Linked DNA regions of Homo sapiens: all the other regions are linked to region 3. Evidence: promoter capture Hi-C in human tissues and cell types (Jung and others, 2019). All regions are on one chromosome and are shown on one strand. The core of a region is centred on a gene start or on the middle of the fragment in contact, and the rest is flanking DNA. Distances in the headings are between cores, read along the strand shown. Region 1 has its middle 62 kb from the start of LINC00431. Region 2 holds the start of LOC124903213 (a long non-coding RNA gene). Region 3 holds the start of CARS2 (cysteinyl-tRNA synthetase 2, mitochondrial).

Evidence for each region. The method cuts DNA at HindIII sites, captures the fragments that hold promoters and counts their contacts. A contact is called where the count stands out against the background at its distance.
Region 1: a fragment that was not itself captured here is called in contact with the fragment with the promoter of CARS2 in region 3 in 1 of the 25 tissues and cell types used here (dorsolateral prefrontal cortex).
Region 2: a contact is called between a fragment that was not itself captured here and the fragment with the promoter of CARS2 in region 3, in 1 of the 25 tissues and cell types used here (heart right ventricle).

Annotation. Positions count from the first base shown.
Region 1 is chr13:111,027,030-111,029,729 of GRCh38, reverse strand. No RefSeq gene overlaps it. Among named protein-coding and RNA genes, the nearest start is that of LINC00431, 62 kb to the right of the region's middle. The HindIII fragment of the contact is 3,515 bases long and covers 1-2,700 here.
Region 2 is chr13:110,973,904-110,976,603 of GRCh38, reverse strand. The region is part of intron 1 of LINC00431 (long intergenic non-protein coding RNA 431); the gene reads right to left. It overlaps LOC124903213 (a long non-coding RNA gene), which reads right to left and starts at 393. Exons shown (of 2, transcript XR_007063875.1): 1 at 1-393. The HindIII fragment of the contact is 4,834 bases long and covers 1-2,700 here.
Region 3 is chr13:110,704,814-110,707,513 of GRCh38, reverse strand. It overlaps CARS2 (cysteinyl-tRNA synthetase 2, mitochondrial), which reads left to right and starts at 1,398. Exons shown (of 15, transcript NM_024537.4): 1 at 1,398-1,644; 2 at 1,943-1,993. The coding sequence starts at 1,421. RefSeq lists enhancers at 471-590, 601-980 and a silencer at 1,031-1,590. The HindIII fragment of the contact is 14,015 bases long and covers 1-2,700 here.

The sequences.
Region 1 (2,700 bases), core at 123-2,622, 320 kb before region 3:
CCCCATCGGAGTCCGACCCTGAGCCTGCGTGTTCACGGACCATCCTTTTGACCCTTGTGGCACACTGTATAATTTAGCAATGGGCGCAACAGTCATATCTGTTTTACAATGTCGTGCTTTTCCTTCTGCTTCGTGTCCCCCAAACCAGATTCTAAGTAATACGCGCCTGTACTTTTTAGTAGCCTTTTCCACGTTCCATGGAGAACTGACCTGTCTTGGGTCTTTCAGAACCTTCCACAGAAGAACTGTTCTGGGGGCTGTCCCTGCAGCAGAGAGAAGAGTGTGGTGGGGGGAAGGAGTCCACTTCCCTTGGACACACGCTCCCAGGTGGTCTCCTGGATGCTACCACCTCGGCACCCCCGAGCTGCTGAGCCCAGTCTCCCGACCCTGCCCGGCATCTCTATGGCACGTGAGTGCTCCACACTGCAGCTCACAGGCACCCAATCATCTCCCCATTTTCTCCACCCAAACACCCCCTCCTGCGCACTCTATTTAGAAAGTGAATATCCGTTGCACATTTCAGCCGGTCACTTGGAATTCATCTTAAATGGCTTTTTCCTTGCAATGTTTACACCCACTAGATCACCAAGTCCTGCGAATTTTGCTTCTTAAATTTCTTTCTTCCTTTCCTCCTTCCTTCCTTCCTTTCTTCCTTCCTTCCTCCCTCCCTCCCTCTCTCTCTTTCTTTCTCTCTCTTTCTCTCTCTCTTTTTTGACGGAGTCTCATTCTGTCACCAGGCTGGAGTGCAGTGGTGCAATCTCGGCTACTACAACCTCCGCCTCCCAGATTCAAGCGATTTTCCTCCCTCAGCCTCCCAAGTAACTGGGACTACAGGCGCGCACCACCATGCCCAGCTAATTTTTGTATTTTTAGTAGAGACAGGGTTTCACCATGTTGACCAGGATGGTCTCGATCTCTTGACTTTGTGATCCGCCTTCCTGGGCCTCCCAAAGTGCTGGGATTACAGGCATGAGCCACCGCGCCCAGCCTGCTTCTTAAATTTCTCCCAAATCTCTCCCCTCCTGTCCAGCCTATTACACAGCCTTAGCTCAGTGCCTGCTGGCTTTTCTCCTGGCTCTCCAGCATGCTGGCCTGACTATACCTCTGCAGGGCCTCTGTGGGGATCTTCCAAAAGAGGACGCTGCCAGGCTTCCTCATCATCCAGATAAAGCACAGACTCTTCTCAAGCTGCCCTCAACCAGCCTCAGAGGGCACACAGGGCCTCGGAGGCATCAGCAAGGGCCACCCTTGCTCTTGGCCCTGGGACTAAAGCCACATGCTGCCTTAGGAGTCTGAGACCTGAACTTTTTCTCTTTATTCAAAATTCCTTCCTAAGGGGCCTGGAGGAGTCATCTCTGCAGACTGTCAATCTTGCTAAACAGGTCATTTTCTTCCAGTGTCTTGTGGTTTGCACTTGCAACCTGGCTCCAGCGTAGTACCCCATGATGATGAGCAGAAGTCCTGATCTCAACTTAAATATGCCTTTCTGCTGACTCCGAGTTTTCAGAGAAAGCTTTGTTCTTTTAATCAACTGCACATCAAAGAATCTTTAATCCCGCCTATGATCTGTAAGCCGCCACTTCAAGATATCTCACCTTTTTGTGCCAAGCCAAAGTATAACCTCCAGGTATTGATTCATGACTTTGCCTGTACCTCCTGCCTCCCTGAAATGTATGAGTTGCATACCGACTGCCTCGAAACCACCCACTCAGGGCTTCTTGGGTTTGTGTTTTCCCCAGGCTGCGGTCACTCATGTTGGCTCAGAATAAACCTCTTTGACATATTTTATGGAGTTTTGGTATTTTTCCACTTGAAGATGCAGTTCCTAACTCTCTAGCACCTCTCCTCGGTGCATTTTGTGTTACAGTATTGAGCAAGATTTCAGAATCAAAGCAGTATACATAGAGTAAATGAGCTGGTGTGTGTACATGTCATGCGAGTGGCACGCATAACGTGAAAAGATTAAAGTACTGCCATCCTTGTAAGTACTCAGCGAGCATTAACTATCATCATTCTTCTACCAGCACAAAGGTTTATATGTAACTTGAGGCCACATCGTGGATCCCATGGGTATGAACAAAGGAATCCTTTCACATGACCCCAACACTCTTGTTTTGGGCAGGGATTTTTCAGTTACACATCTCAACCGGCAAAGATGTGTGAGAGACTCAGTACGTCAAAGGCCTCTGGGAACGCCTGCCTGACAGTGACCTTGAGACCACCCTTGCATCAAGGTCATTCCCACACAACAGCCTGTAAAAATCTTTTGATATTTGCATTGCAATTTCAGCTATCTAAGCATCATTTTAGAGAGAATTAACTCCTTTATGACATCATCTTCCCAATTTAGCATCTCCCTCCATTTATTTAGAATTTCTTTATTTCTCGCAGTAATGCTGTTTCTGCACAGAACCTTTGCACACCTCCTGTTAAATACATTTGACAGCTGATGTTTTTACTCATGTTTCTGTTTGTTACTCGTGTACAGAAGCACAACTGCTGTTTTTTTAAAAACATTGACCCTATAGCCGGGCATTGTGGCATGCGTCTGTAGTCCCATCTACTCCAGAAGCTGAGGTAAGAGGATTGCTTGAGCCCTGGAGGTCAAGGCTGCAGTGAGCTCTGATCATGCCATTGCACTCCAGCCTGGGTGACAGAATGAGACCCCGTCTTAAAAAAAAATGTTGACCCTGCACCCAT
Region 2 (2,700 bases), core at 62-2,561, 270 kb before region 3:
CATTTGCTTAATAGTTTCTTCACCACAAAGCTTCAGTTCAGTGACCATGTCAGCCATCTTCAAGAGGTGAAATTAGATGTACCTAGTAAAAATCAATAGAAACAAAATCAAAAGTAAAAGACCAGTGTCTTAGTCTGTTTTTGCTGCTGTAATAGAATACTATAGACTAGGTAATTTATAAAGAAGAGAGATTTGTGTGTCTCAGGGTCCTGTAGGCTGGAAGGTCCAAGACTGTACGGCCACAGGTGGTGAGGGCCTTCTTGCTACATCCTAACATGGCAGAAGGCATCACATGGTGAGGCAGGTGCAAGACACAGAGAGAAAGGGGGCTGAATTCCCGAGATAACAAACTTACTCCTATGATAATGGCATTAACTTATTCAGGAAGGCAGAGCCCTCATGACCTAATTAACTCTTAAAGGTCCCATCTCTTAATACCATCACAAAGACAATTAAACTTTAACATGAGTTTTGGAGAGGACATTCAAATCATAGCAGCCAGATTATTTTTACAGACCTCTTTGTGTAAGACAAGTTTGCACTGAAATCCTGGACTACCTGGAGGCTCCAGAACAGCTCTGCATTTCAGTCTCAGGTACACAAAGGCAATGAAGCAAATTTCATAAGCAGAGATCAATGATGAGACCTATTAAAATGGAGTCATTTGGTCTATTCACTCCAAGAGCTACTGGATTTTCAAAAATAGAAAATTCCAAATTGGTTGTTAAATGTTCAATTTCAAATTGAAAAAAATTCTGCATTTGCAATTATGTCTCAGTTACCTCTCATTGCTTCCAGTTATCATATTAATTCATTTCAATGTGATTTTAATGCATTGCTTTCTCAATTAGCCAGTAAGATGTGTAAGGAAGAATTGGGTAACATAAGGAATGTTTCTCAAAAGATATTAGATGTTTTGTATCTAGCTCTGATGATTGCTCTCTTAGTACTTAATTAGTACTTAATTCTCTTGAAGCTGTTCTTTTTTTCTTTTTAAATTTTAAGCTGCATCACAATGTTTTGTGTATTATATTCAGTTTTGTCAAAACTATTTGTTAACATTTTTATTTAATTTCTTATTTTTATTTAACAAGAAGGGGCCAATACAAAGCAAAGCCCAGAAAAATCAAATTGAGTTCAGTTAACACACTAGTACTGATTTGTCTGGGCAAGTCATGGCTTTCTTAAAGAGCTCTGCAACTTCATGTAACTTGTTTTAAAACTGAGTGTATGAGTCCATTTTCATGCTACTGATAAAGACATACCAGAGCTGGGTAATTTATACACAAAAAGAGGTTTAATGGACTCACAGTTCCATGTGGCTTGGGAGGCCTCACAATGATGGTGGAAGGCAAGGAGGAGCAAGTCCTGTCTTACATGGCTGGTGACAGGCAAAGAGAGAGAGCTCATGCAGGGAAACGCCCCTTTATAAAACCATTAGATCTCATGAGACTTATTCACTACCACAAGAACAGCATGGGAAAGACCTGCCCCCATGATTCGATTACCTCCCACTGAGTCCCTCCCACAACACGTGGGAATTCAATATGAGATTTTGGTGGGGACACAGCCAAACCGTATCAATGAGCTTCTAAACTCATTAACTGTTGAAAATAAAAGGGAGATGTCAAAGGCTTTTGTTTTATTGCATATAGAAATTTAAAATTAATCCGATTTCCTGTAACAGCAACATAGTAACCTGATCTCAGAAAACATATTCTATGAGAAGACAAGGAAAATAAATGAATGAACAAAGGAATGAAGTATGTATGAATGTATGAATGTTTAGATGGACACAGAAAACTTTTAGGAGATTTTCTTACTCAGGCAAATCTTCCACTGTTGCTTCCCCAGAATAGAGAGCACTCCCTATTTTGCTCTCTTCATTTTTGTTGCCAACACTTAGAATTACTAGTAGAGAGATCTCTGACCATTGAGGTCAAGGTTGATGAGTCCAAGAAGATGTCATGCACTGAAGTGGCCTTGGTCTGGTCAGCAGCAGGTCTTCCTAGATACCATTTGTGGATTCTCCCTAGGCAGGAAGGACCATTGGCCACAACCCTGCTGTGGCACTCCATGATGGATCTAGGTCCTTCTGTCTTTTAAAACAGCAACATAATGTCTCCAGGATTAATCTGAAAAGCACTAGAACTTTGTGATTCTGACACAGTTAATCACTCCCAGTATCTCTATTCAATATTTTCTAAAGATAAAAGTTAAAAAAGACAATTATACAGATTACAGAGACCAGAGTAAGAAAGGCTTGGAGAAAAAAGAGAAACTTAGAGTGCCAACAACAATATAACATAAACAGACCAGCAAATAATAATGCAATTTCCCAGCTAATAGGATTGCTTAACAGCTGAATACAATCACACTCCTGATTAAACAGTAACAACATACACTTATGAAGAAAGACTGTAAGTTGTAATATGTCTTTTCAAGAAGCAGCATATTAACCACTGTTTATACTTCTCTAATTACATTCCTTTAAGTTTTTCATTTAGAAAACAGTTTACATTTTAATATCCAGCATCACTTCTGTTTTTAAAACAATTGGTCACATTTATATTGCCAAATTAAGGATATACAGGATATTTTCATAAGAAAAAAACAAGTGCAGGTGTGCTTTGAAAATGACCTTTAACTGAGGAGTCTGGTTACATAAAGATGAACGGTCTAATGATCTCATCTCCTCCC
Region 3 (2,700 bases), core at 149-2,648:
CACCACGCCCGGCTAATTTGTGTATTTTTAGTAGAGACGGGGTTTCACCATATTGGTCAGGCTGGTCTCGAACTCCTGACCTCAGGTGATCCATCCGCCTCAGCCTCCCAAAGTGCTGGGATTACAGGTGTGAGCCACTGCGCCTGGCCCAATAGAGGCACGTTTGTCAAGCTATTGTGAGTAACTTTCAGAATGTTTTTGTTCTCAAGATACGGGATCATGGTGGGGGAGGCATGCTGTGTATTGGAGTGCAGACATGGTGTGTGTTGGGTTGCACACTGTGTATTGGGGTGCACACTGTATTGGGGTGTAGATGTGTGGGGGCGCACACTCTATTGAGGTGCACATTGCATTGGAATGCAGACAGTGTTTGCTGGGATGCACATGTGCTGTGTTGGGGTGCACACTGTACTGGGGTGCAGACATGGTGTGTGTTAGAGTGCACAGTGTATTAGGGGTGCACACTGTATTGGGGTGTACACTGTACTGGGGTGCAGACATGGTGTGTGCTGGGGTGCACACTGTATTGGAGTGCACACTGTATTGGGATGCTGATGTGGTGTGTGCTAGGGTGCATACTGTGTATTGGGGTGCAGACTGTATGCTGGGTTGCACACTGTGTATCGGGGTGCACTGTGTTGGGATGCTGATGGTGTGCTGCAGTGCACACTATTGGGGTGCAGATGTGTGTGCTGGGGTGCACACTGTATTGGGGTGCACACTGTATTGGGATGCTGATGTGTGTGCTGGGGTGCATACTGTGTATTGGGGTGCACACTTCTTGGGGTGCAGACTGTGTGTTGGGTTGCACATTGTGTATCGGGGTGCACTGTGTTGGGATGCTAACGGTGTGCTGCAGTGCACACTGTATTGGGGCGCAGATGTGTGTTTGGGGTGCACACTGTATTGGGGTGCACACTGTATTGGGGTGCTGACGTGTGTTCTGGGGTGGACACTGTGTATTAGCGTGCTGACGTGGGCTGTGCTGGGATGCACACGTGCTTCGCTAACAGGCCAGGGCCCGGCAACAGAAGCTTGCACTGTAAACGCTCCTCCCGCGCGGCGGACACAGCTCCAGGCTGGTACCGCGCGCACACGGACGCCTCGCAGGACCTGGGCTAATAAGGAGAGGAGATCGGCACGGTACCGCCTCTTCCCACGGCCTCCCGGCGCGGCACCGCCCTCCTCCCTCCACCCCGGGCCTTCCCCGCCCCAACCTCTTCGGGCCCTGGTTCTCCACCCTTGCCGCGGGCGACTCGAGCCAGGCCAAAGGGAGGCGCTACCTGAGGACTGCTTCCGGGAGTGGGCGTGGCCCCAAGGGCGTGGGCGGGGCGGGGCGGGGCCGTGCTGCTCTTGAGCGACCGGCAGCGTACCCGGCGTGGCTCCCGTCTCCGCCCAGTCGTAGGCGCTGGCCGCTGACATGTTGAGGACTACGCGCGGCCCAGGCCTGGGCCCCCCGCTGCTCCAGGCCGCGCTGGGCCTTGGGCGGGCTGGGTGGCACTGGCCTGCGGGCCGGGCGGCGAGCGGGGGGCGCGGGCGGGCCTGGCTGCAGCCCACGGGCCGGGAGACGGGTGTGCAGGTGTACAACAGCCTCACCGGGAGGAAGGAACCCCTAATCGTGGCGCACGCCGAAGCCGCCTCCTGGTGGGCCGCGCGGGACTGGGGCACGGGCGGGGGCCGATCGTGGCGGAGACTTCCCACGGCTGAACGGGATCTGGGCTCGGGGAGGGCGTTTAGGAAGCTGCATGGAGGGCGCCGTTCTAGAAGCTGGGGGTGCGCGGTGCTTTTGCAGGTTTGGGTGTGAATTGAGCAAGTATGAAAACCCCGGCTATTCATCCCCCAGAAGTGATTACTTTAAAAATTATATGATCATTATAACTCAGAATCGAATGTCCTTTCTTGCAAATATGTTCCACACGATGGATTTTAACTTTGTTTCCAGGTATAGCTGTGGACCAACTGTATATGATCATGCGCACCTTGGCCATGCTTGGTGAGTTTCCTGGATTTGAATTTTCATACTTCAAAGGACCATTTATTTTTGAAAGCCTTTTGCTGATTTCTTTTATCTCTTAAGTGGCAACTTAGGGATGCAGAATAATTCCTACATTCCAGGCATTGTGGGAAATGTTACAACCTCATTTGGTTCTTATAGGGATTCTGAGCACTTACACCCGTTTTACAGGTGAGGAAACTCAGGGAGACAATGGAGCACTGAAAAATGACCCGTTTTGGAACTAGATGTTTTTTGCTGGGTTTAGTGACATCAAGAGGCCTTTGCGGGGTCCCGGGGTCCTGCTGATCAGTCATTCCTGGGCCCCACCACTTCTTAGCTTCACAGCACTGAGCAGGTCACTTTATTGCTTTGAGTCCTGGTTTCTTCATCTTTGAGATGGGAATGATAACTTGGATCTTATAACAATTTTAGTAAATAATGCCCATAAAATGCTGCTTAACACTGTACCTCACATGTGAGATGTCACGGGGCTCAATAGTGATTGAGTAACTTTCCTAAGATGACACATTGAAGAGGTATTGGAACTGGGGTGAGGCTTGGTTTCTCTGACTGCGAAGTGGTTGCTCTCTTGACCTCTTTAACTGTAAGATGTACTGCCTCCTACATTTGCCAAAATTACCACTTTTCCTAATATTTTGTACATTTCCAAAATATAATGTACAAAAATGACATATTATAGATTT